2 separate regions of the Homo sapiens genome follow, and region 1 is linked to region 2. Evidence: promoter capture Hi-C in human tissues and cell types (Jung and others, 2019). All regions are on one chromosome and are shown on one strand. The core of a region is centred on a gene start or on the middle of the fragment in contact, and the rest is flanking DNA. Distances in the headings are between cores, read along the strand shown.

Region 1 (4,937 bases), core at 1,837-4,336, 150 kb after region 2:
TGCCTCCTCCAGGTCCCCCTCTTTGATTTGCCAAGGTTTTGAGGGCAGGTGGATAGTAGAGAAGGAACTAACATTCTCTCCCTACACTGGAGGAGTAGAAGGCAATGAAAGGCTTGGGAGGTGGGTGGCTGTGTCCAAGGGCCCGGCCCGCATCCTGTGCCCTAGAGCTAATAAGCATTTCTCTCCTCTTCCAACCAGGCGACCCGTTCCAGAATGACCCCTTTGCAGAACAGCAGACAACTTCAACAGGTAAAATTCAGTGTTTCCCGGACCGGTCTTTAGACTGTGTCCAGTCCTGGCTCAGAAGTCGCATGTGGTGGGACTTGTGTCCACATACACCGGGGATGGCAGCCATGTAACTGGGAAGGACGGCCGTCCATCCATGTTGTACCCATTCTCGGTCCCGTTCCCTTCTGGAGGTGGCTCCCCTCCCCAGGTCCAGTCACTGCCCGCACCCCACCCTGGAGTGTGGTGGGATCACATTGCTTGCTAATTTATTTATTTATTTTATTTATTTATTTATTTATTTATTTTTTATTTTTTTTTTTTTTGAGACGGAGTCTCGCTCTGTCGCCCAGGCTGGAGTGCAGTGGCGCGATCTCGGCTCACTGCAAGCTCCGCCTCCCGGGTTCACGCCATTCTCCTGCCTCAGCCTCCCAAGTAGCTGGGACTACAGGCGCCCGCTACCACGCCCGGCTAATTTTTTGTATTTTTAGTAGAGACGGGGTTTCACCGTGTTAGCCAGGCTCGTCTCACACTCTTGACCTCAGGTGATCTGCCCACCTTGGTCTCCCAAAGTGCTGGGATGACAGGCGTGAGCCACCATGCCCGACCGATTTATTTTTTTTCAGGTGAAATTTATGTAACATAAAAGTCACTGTTTTAAAGCATCCAATTCAGTGGTATTGAGCACACTCACAGTGTTGTGCAATGATCACCTTCATCTAGTTCCACAACATTCTCATCCCCCCAAAAGGAGACCCCATCCCAATCAGCAGTCACTCCCCATTCCCTCCCGCAACCCCTGGCACCCACCAACCTATTTTCTGTCTCTATGGATTTACCTGCGTTGTTTATTATTATTATTATTATTATTATTATTATTATTATTATTATTATTATATCCAGCTCCTGCAGGATATTTTATTTATTTATTTAGAGATGGGGTTTTACTCTATTGCCTAGGCTGGAGTGCAGTGGCGCAATTATAGCTCACTGCAGCCTTGACCTCCTGGGCTCAAGCAGCCTTTCTGCCTCAGCCTCCTTAGTAGCTGATACTACAGGCGTGTGCCACCACACCTGGCTAATTTTTTATTTTATTTTTCTCTGTGTTGCCCATGCTGGTCTTGAACTCCTGGCCTCAAGTGATCCTCCTATCTCAGCCTCCTAAAGTGATGGGATTACAGGCATGAGCCATTGTGCCTGGCCAGGATATTATTATTTTTAAAGTCAATTTTATTGAGTGGCATAATTTACACAGAACAAAATTCACCCATTTTACTATGTAATAAGATGAGTTTCATTAAATATGCACGGTTGTGTGCAATTTGAGAACACTTCTGTCATTCCTGAGGCCCCTTTGTTGTCACCCTCCACCCTCTCCTCAGGGTCCCCTGGCCACCATTATCCTGTTTTCCGTCACTAGCGTTCTTACCTTTCTAGAATTTCATGTAAACGGCATCATTCTGTGATGTGTTCTTTTATGTCTGGGTTCTTTCACTTGGTATAATGTTTACTTATGGGGCATTTTTCCTTCTAGATCCATTTGGAGGGGACCCTTTCAAAGAAAGTGACCCATTCCGTGGCTCTGCCACTGACGACTTCTTCAAGAAACAGACAAAGAATGACCCATTTACCTCGGATCCATTCACGAAAAACCCTTCCTTACCTTCGAAGGTGAGTGGGGTGGGACGTTGCCCGGGAGAGCTGCGTGCCTGCTCTGTGTGGTAAGGGTGGCGCTTCCCGAAGGCCCCCTTCCCTTCGTGGAGCGTACATGGTGCCTGCGAGTGTGGGCCATGGTGTCTGTTCTCCGGGAGCTGGTATCCCAGGCTGATTTCATTCCTGCTGAGTGAGGGAGCTCACTGGCCTAGTCACTGCAGTGACATCCTGTGAGCCCCAAGGTGCAGTTAGCAGTCCAGTGGCCCCACATCAGGGCAAGGAGGATGTCACCCATAGTTCTTATTTCTCTATCCCCATTCCTACCCCTCAACTCTAGTCATCTGCCCCCACTGCCCCTTCATCTCCCAAAAAAGACTAAATCACACAAGCACCACATGCTCGCATGGACCCGGCCACCCTGCACGGTCCTTGTAACACACAGCACTGGTGGGGACCTTAGAGTCACGTTTGGTAGGTGCTCCCGTCACGGCAGGAGTAAGTGCAGGCGTCTCAGCCCGGCTGCCTTGCCTGGTGTCTCCTGAGAGCATCAGCCAACTCTGACCCTCCAGTTTCCAACTCCAGCATACCTGTACTCCCATCCCCGGGCGTGGCAGACACCGGGTATTTTGCATATTATGCCCAAGAGATTGGGTTAAATAGGTGTCAACTTGGATTTCAAAACCAAAAAAAAAAAAAAAAGCAGCCTCGGTGATGGAGCAGAGGATGTTCATGATGGAGTGAGCGTGCTTCATAGCCTTCTTCCGTTTTCTAGGCTGCAACCCAGGCCCGGGGCCTGCTCAGAGACGGGCACTCACCCTCCTTCTCAGGGCTCCTGCTACCCTGGCGCCCACCTCGCTCACTCCCTGTGGACCTTTTGGTCTTTAGCGCTTGAAGCTCCTTGAAGGCAAAGACTCATTTGCAGTATTTTCTTATTGGCCCCTTTTTAATGTCCTTAAGACCTGTAGTGAGAATTTCCCTAGCATTCCTGGTATTGGTGATCTGTTTACCAATTTCATTGACCTTTCCCATAACCAGCTTTTGGCTTCATTTTTCTCTACTGCTTGTTTTCTATTTCATTGATTTTCTCTTTTCTATTTCTATTTTTTTCCATTTCCTTACTCCTATTTATTTGGGGTTACTTTGCTCTTCTAACATCTTAAGATCCAAGCTTCATTCATTAATTTTAGACTTCATTTTCTAGTACTGGCGGTCCCTGACTTACGATGGTTCAATTTACAGTTTTTTGACTTTACAATAGTTTTATCGAGATGCAGTCCCATCATAAGTCAAGGAGTGTCTGGACTTAACATTGGTTTGACTTCTGATTTTTTGCTTTGTGATGGGTTTATTGGGATATTACGTACATTTTCAACTTAAAATATTTTCAACTTACAATGGGTTTATCAGGATGTAACCCCATGGTAAGTCAAGGAGCATCTGTATAAATTTAAAGCAACATATTTCCCTTAAGCACTGCTTTACATGTATTTCATATATTTGAATACTTTATCTCTTCATTGCCATTCAGTTTTGAGATATTTTCCAGTTTCCCTTGTGAATTCTGTTCACTTATGGATTACTTAAAAGTATGTTGTTTCATTTCCAGATACTTGGCTTTTTCTCCTAGGTATATTATAATACTATTATTATTGATTTTTAATTAAATTTGTTATTTGAGAACATATTCTGTATGTTTTCAATACCTTCACATTAATCAAGGGTTGTTGTTTGTGGCCTATGTTGGTGAACAAACCATGTACACTTGAGAAGAATGTGTATCTAGTTGTTGGGTGTAATGCTCTACAAATGGCAGTGAGGTTGAGGTTCCTCATAGTGTTCAGATTATCTGTGTCTTGTTTGTTTGTTTTTTAGTCCTACCAGTGTCTGAGAGAGAGGCGTTAAACATTCTCCTATGATTGTGGAATTGTTCATACTGCACTTTAATTTGATCAAGTTTTGCTTTGTGTATTTTGAAGCTTTGTCAGGTGCATAGGTGTTTATGATTGTTGTGTCTTTCTGACACAACAACCTTTTTATCATTATAAAAGATTCCCATTTGATCTCTGGTGATGTTCTTTGTCTTGAAGTCTGTTTAATCACTTCATTCTCCTCATGTTATTCACTACATGATACATCATTTTTCAACCATTTACTTTCAACTTACCTGGATCTTTAAAACTGATAGGTGTCTTTTGTAAGTAGCATAGTGTTGGGGCTTGCTTTTTTTTTTAAAATCCAGTCAGAAGTCCCTGCCTTGTAAGTGTAATGTTTAGTCCATTAACATTTAATGTAATTATTGATATGGTTTAAGTCTACTATTTTATTATTTGCTTGCTTTTTATCCCATGTTTTGTTTCCTGCTTTCTTTTGAATTGTTTGAATGTTTTTTTGAATTCTGTCTATTGGCCTTTTATTATTTTAATCATACCTCTTTTAATGATTGTTTAGAGGTTGCTTTAGGAAATATCATGTACAGCTTTAACTTTTCATAGTCTACTTGAGGTTAGTATTGTATTATCTCATGTAAAATATAGAAAACTTGCAACCATGTAGGTCCATTTGTCCACCCACCCTTGCAGCCAGCATGTCTTATGTTATAGCCGTCATGTGAATTTCATACATCTAAATACATTAGAAACTCCATAAGACTGTTACAATTTTTGTATTAATCCATTGTGGGTATTGTAAAGAAAGAGGAAAAAAGTAGTCATTTAGTTTTACCCAAATATGTACCATTTCTGATACTCTTCATTTGTTACTGAAGATTGGTTTTCCCTCCATTATCATTTTCCTTCAGCCTAAAGAACTTTCTTTAGCACTTCTTATAGCTCAGGTCGACTGTGTTGTCATTTTTTTATTTTTAGTTTTGAAACAGAGTCTCACTCTGTTGCCCAGGCTGAAGTGCAGTGGTGTGATCTTGGCTTACTGCAACCTCAACCTCCTGGGCTCAAGCAGTTCTCCCACCTCATCCTCCCAAGTTGCTGGGACCACAGGCATGTACCTCCACACCCAGCTATTGTTTTATTTTTTGTAGAGATGGGATTTCCATATGTTGGCCA
Region 2 (5,236 bases), core at 1,670-4,169:
GCCTGGGCAACAAGAGTGAAACTCCATCTCAAAAAAAATAAAAAATAAAAAATATTTTTTAAATAAACAGTATGATCCCACACTGTTCTCTCTGCCTGTTTAGGGTGTTTAGAGCTGGCCCCTTGTTCAGATCATAGTGCAGACCTCACCTCGAGAGCCTTTCCTGACAACCCTATCAGCCTGGGCCTCACCCTCCCTTGTATCATAGTCTCAGCATCCTCTTCTTAATAACACCTTTGAGATGATATATTTGTTTACTGATTTTGGGACTCTTCCCCGCCATAGACTGAGTCCCCTGAGAGCAGAGCTGAGATCTGAGTTGTGCATGACCGTATCTATAAACCACATCCAACTGGCCGCCTGTTTTTGTGAGCCAGGAAGGTTTTTCAAAGGTGAACATGTACCATCAATTGACGACAGGAAATACAACTGGGAGCCCCAATTAAGTGAAATGTTATCCCCCAAAAGAATTCCACTCTTATGAATAGACTTGGGTCTTAGTCCATTTTGCATCGCTATAAAAGAACACCTGAGACTGGGCAATTTTTAAAGAAGAGAAATTTATTTCTTACAGTTCTGGAGGCTGAGATATCCAAAATCAAGGGCCTTCTTGCTGGTGGGGACTCTGCAGAGTCTTGAGGTAGCACAGGGCATCACATGGCTAGCAGGCTGTGTGCAAGCTCAGGTCTCTCTTCCTTTTTTTTTTGAAACGGAGTCCTGCTCTGTTGCCCAGGCTGGAGTGCAGTGGCACGACTTTGGCTCACTGTAACCTCCACCTCAACCTTTGCCTTCTGGGTCCAAGTGATTCTCGTGCCTCAGCCTCCCAAGTAGATGGGATTACAGGCATCCGCCACCATGCCCGGCTAATTTTTGTATTTTTAGTAGAGATGGGATTTCTCCATGTTGGCCAGGCTGGTCTCGAACTCCTGACCTCAGGTGATCTGCGTGCCTTGGCCTCCCAAGGTGCTGGAATTACAGGCATGAGCCACTGAGCCTGGCCTTTCTTCCTCTTTTTATTTTATTTTATTTATTTTATTTATTTTTTTTTTTTGAGATGGAGTCTCACTCTGTCGCCCAGGCTGGAGTGCAGTGGTGCAATCTCAGCTCACTGCAAGCTCCAAACCAGTCCCACTCCCATGATAACCTATTTATCCATTAACACATGAATGGCACGACCTCATAACCCAATCACCTCTTAAAGGCTCCACCTCTTAATACTGTTTCACTGGGGATTAGGAACAAACATTCAAACTGTAGCAACTTGTATTTAAGAAACTACTCAGTTATCATATTTTGATTTTCACCAACAAAAATTTTATGAACTTTTCTTTCTGGTTATAGAAATACCTAAATAAGGCTGGGTAGGGTGGCTCACACCTGTAATCCCAGCAGTCTGGGAGGCCAAGGCAGGCAGATCATGTGAGGTCAGGAGTTCAAGACCAGCATGGCCAACCTGGTGAAACCCCATCTCTACTAAAAATGCAAAAATTAGCCGGGCGTGGTGGTGCGCACCTGTAGTCCCAGCTCCCCTGGAGGCTGAGGCAGGAGAATTGCTTGAGCACGGGAGGCAGAGGTTGCAGTGAACCGAGATCACACCACTGCACTCCAGCTTGGGCGAGAGAGAGCAAGACTGTGTCTCAAAAAAAAAAAAAAACCAAACAATTAAGATCCTCGATCTTCATGAGAAAATATGAACTAGAGGACATTTAGAAAAAAAAAAATCCTTGATCTTGCCTCCTGACCTGCAGAGTCTAAAATATTTGCTTTCTGTCCCTTTTATACAAAAAGTTTTGTTGATTCCTAGCCTACAGCAACACTTGATGTAGAGTTGTCAATCCATAAGCATCTGGTGGAAAAATGCTGTTAACAATAAAAATGAAACTAATCTAAAATACATGTGCATTTATTTGCACAGAAAAAAACAGGCTGGGTAAAGTAGCTCATGCCTATAATCCTAGCACTTTGGGAGGCCGAGGCGGGAGGATTACTTGAGCACAGGAGTTCAGGGCTAGTGAGCTATGATCATGACACTGCACTCCAGCGTGGGCCACAGAGCAAGACCTTGTCTCAAGAAAAAAGAAAAAAAAAAACGGATAAAGGAAAAAAAAGCGGCGGGGGCGGGGGGCAGGTATAGCCAACTAAGCATTAACCATCTCAAGAGGATCAGTTTATATCGGACGTCCACAGCAGAAATTTGCTGCTTCTGGCTATCTTTTCCCCACAATTAGCAAGGGTTAGCTTCATTATTTTAGAGGCAACCCAACTGCAGCTTTTAGAAAGGCGCTGTGCCCTCTAGGCCAGCAATTTGAGGGCATGGGTTGGGGGGTACCCCGCCCCAGTCTTCCTGACCAAAGAGTGGAGCGGAAGAAAGCCAGGAGGAGGATGTTTTGAACCTAAATACGTCCAGCTGCAATCCCAGTCAAGCTCGTCGCCCCCAGTTCTGCTCCACCTCCGGTCTGGCCGGGGAGAATGTGACAGTCGCCGCAGCCCGGGATCCACCCGGACGCACCTCACCTCGCAGTCTCCTCACTGTGCCCGCGAAAGGAAAGAGACCCTGGCCCAGGCACGAAGTCCCCAGGCCCCTGGTCGCCCGGAGGTAGCAACCAGCCAGCCCATCGGGCTGCGACGCCGACCAAGGGGCACGCCCCGCGCCCCCCGGTCTCGACTAACACCCACCCGCGCCGTTCCAGCCTTTCCGCGGCGCCGCGCGACGGGGACCCACTCTGCGAAAGTGTCAGGAAACTTCTGCGCGTGCGCGTCGCTAGCCCCTCCCGCGCGCCAGGCATCGCGCGGCTTCTTCCCGCCTGCCTCCCGCTCTCACTTCCGGAGTTTCCCAGCGACGGCCGTAAGTGGCGGGCGGAAGCGGCCCTAGAAGCCCGCCGTAAACGGCTCCCTCGCGCCACTTCCGGCCGGCTTCCGCAGACGGCGCTGGTGGTCGATCGTGTGGCGCCGGAGGACGTTCCCCGCGGCCGGAGCCATGGAGATGCCGCTGCCCCCCGATGGTGAGACCCAAACCGGCCGAGAGACCGTTTCTCTCTCCCCGGAACCTCCTATTGGCCGGCCCCGCCTCCCGGAGTCCCCGGGTCTGGGAGGGGGCGGGGCTCGGCCTCGCGGCTTCGCCTGCGGCCTCTCCCGTGGGTCCCCGCATTCCCGGCGAGCGTGTGGCCCCTATCGGGACCCGTACAAGGGCGGCCTCTTCGGGGCCCACCCCCTTGGGGTCCCCGGCAAGGCGGACGGGGGCTGGGGCGCCGAGTCCCCCGGCTTTGGGCGGTCCTCGCTGACGCCCCGCGTGGCCTTTTCTCCGTCCTCCAGACCAGGAGCTTCGAAATGTCATCGACAAGCTCGCCCAGTTCGTGGCTCGCAATGGGCCCGAGTTTGAGAAGATGACTATGGAGAAGCAGAAGGACAACCCCAAATTCTCGTTTCTTTTCGGAGGCGAATTCTACAGTTACTACAAGTGCAAGCTGGCGCTGGAGCAGCAGCAGCGTGAGTCCCCTCCGGCACTCAGGCCGTCCCATCGAGCGCTTCCTTTCTCGGATTCCAGTCCGGGCTCTGCCACAAACCTCTTTCTTTCGGGTCGTTTATTCTTTGAAGTGGAGCAGCTCGGTCCACACGATCCCTGTTCCGCTGTTCCCACGGCCCTGCACAGAGCGGCTGCTGGGTGCCACTGTAATGGAGAACAACGAGGTTTTCGATCCTCCCCCCTGGGCTCTGGATCAGGGATTTTGCTGTTGTTTTGCAGACTGATGACGGAGATTAGCAGGAGTAGCGTGATTGTTTTAGTGTTTTCTAGGGAGGAAGTGATAGAGGCCGGATGGGAGTCCATGGGACAGGCACTGTCCAGCCCCCTTTGCCGTCTCCCTGTGGGTCCAGCAAGGTTTTGTGCATTTCAGATGCCTGCAGCAGAAATCAAAAAGAATTATCCCTCTGAGTTTTAGTTATTGGCAAGTGTTTATCAATGTTCGTTCATTTAGGCAACAGGATTCCAGTCCTGCTCTAAAGAAGTTTAAAGTTAGGAAGCAGAGCTGGCCTTTGAATAATGGATAGTCACCAGGTGGTGCGGCTGCTCAGGGCAGGTATCACATCTGTCACGTTCAGTACCCAACCCCGTCTCTAGATTGTTTAAATGAATAACTAGGAGTTTGCCAGGTAGATGGACATTGAGAGGTGGTTGTCCGCTGTTTGATCGAACGCCAATTGTGTGTTATGTATTAAGGTACAATGACCCAAACAAGGTCTGTTTGGCTTCGGCGAGCGTGTAGTTCAGGGGACTACACGCTCGTCTTGTATTAAGGTACAAGGTCATTGTCCCTTAATACATAACACACAGTTGGTGTTCGATTAAACAGCTTGAAAGGAGGCCTGTTGCAGTGGCTCATACTGTAATCACAGCACTTTGGGAGTCCAAGGCGGGCAGATCACTTGAGGTTAGGAGTCTGAGACCAGCCTGGCCAACATAGTGAAACCCTGTTTCTACGAAAAATACAAAAATTAGCCGGGTGTGGTGGCCCGCGCCTGTAGTCCCAGCTACTTGGGAGGCTGAGGCGGGAGAATCGCTTGAACCCGGGAGGTGGAGGTTGCGGTAAGCCAAGACCACGCCATTGCACTGCAGTCTGAGTGACAGAGTAAGACTCCATCTCAAAAAAAAAAAAGAAAGAAAGAAAAAGAAAAGGCTTGAAAGGAGGCCAGGCGTAGTGGCTGACGCCTGTAATCCCAGCACTTTGGGAGGCTGAAGCGGGCAGATCACTTGAGGTTAGGAGTCTGAGAACAGCCTGGCTAACATAGTGAAACCCTATCTCTACTAAAATTACAAAACTTAGTCAGGTGTGGTGGCACACACCTGTAGTCCCAGCTACTGGAGAGGCTGAGGCAGAAGAATCGCTTGAACCTGGGAGCTGGAGGTTGCATTGAGCCGAGACCACACCATTGCGCTCCAGCCTGGGTGACAGAATGAGACTCCATCTAAAAAAAAAAAGCAGCTTGAAAGGAGGCCAGGCCCAGTGGCTTGTGCCTGTAATCCCAGCACTTTAGGAGGCTGAGTCAGGCGGATCACTTGAGGTCAGGAGTTCGAGACCAGCCTGGCCAACATGGTGAAACCCCATCTCTACTAAAAATACAAAAAAAATTAGCCAGGCATGGTGGTGGGCACCTGTAGTCCCAGCTACCCGGGAGGCTGAGGCAGGAGAATCGCTTGAACCTGGGAGGTGGAGGTTGCAGTGAGCCAAGATCGTGCCAC

What was found. The method cuts DNA at HindIII sites, captures the fragments that hold promoters and counts their contacts. A contact is called where the count stands out against the background at its distance.
Region 1: a contact is called between a fragment that was not itself captured here and the fragment with the promoter of CHERP in region 2, in 1 of the 25 tissues and cell types used here (lymphoblastoid cells).

What each region holds. Positions count from the first base shown.
Region 1 is chr19:16,389,263-16,394,199 of GRCh38, reverse strand. It overlaps EPS15L1 (epidermal growth factor receptor pathway substrate 15 like 1), which reads left to right. Exons shown (of 24, transcript NM_001258374.3): 18 at 199-249; 19 at 1,760-1,896. Among named protein-coding and RNA genes, the nearest start is that of KLF2, 67 kb to the right of the region's middle. The HindIII fragment of the contact is 3,848 bases long and covers 1,163-4,937 here.
Region 2 is chr19:16,540,120-16,545,355 of GRCh38, reverse strand. CHERP (calcium homeostasis endoplasmic reticulum protein) reads left to right here and starts at 2,919. Exons shown (of 17, transcript NM_006387.6): 1 at 2,919-3,002; 2 at 3,313-3,486. The coding sequence starts at 2,978. RefSeq lists silencers at 3,018-3,207, 3,218-3,287. The HindIII fragment of the contact is 9,580 bases long and covers 1,255-5,236 here.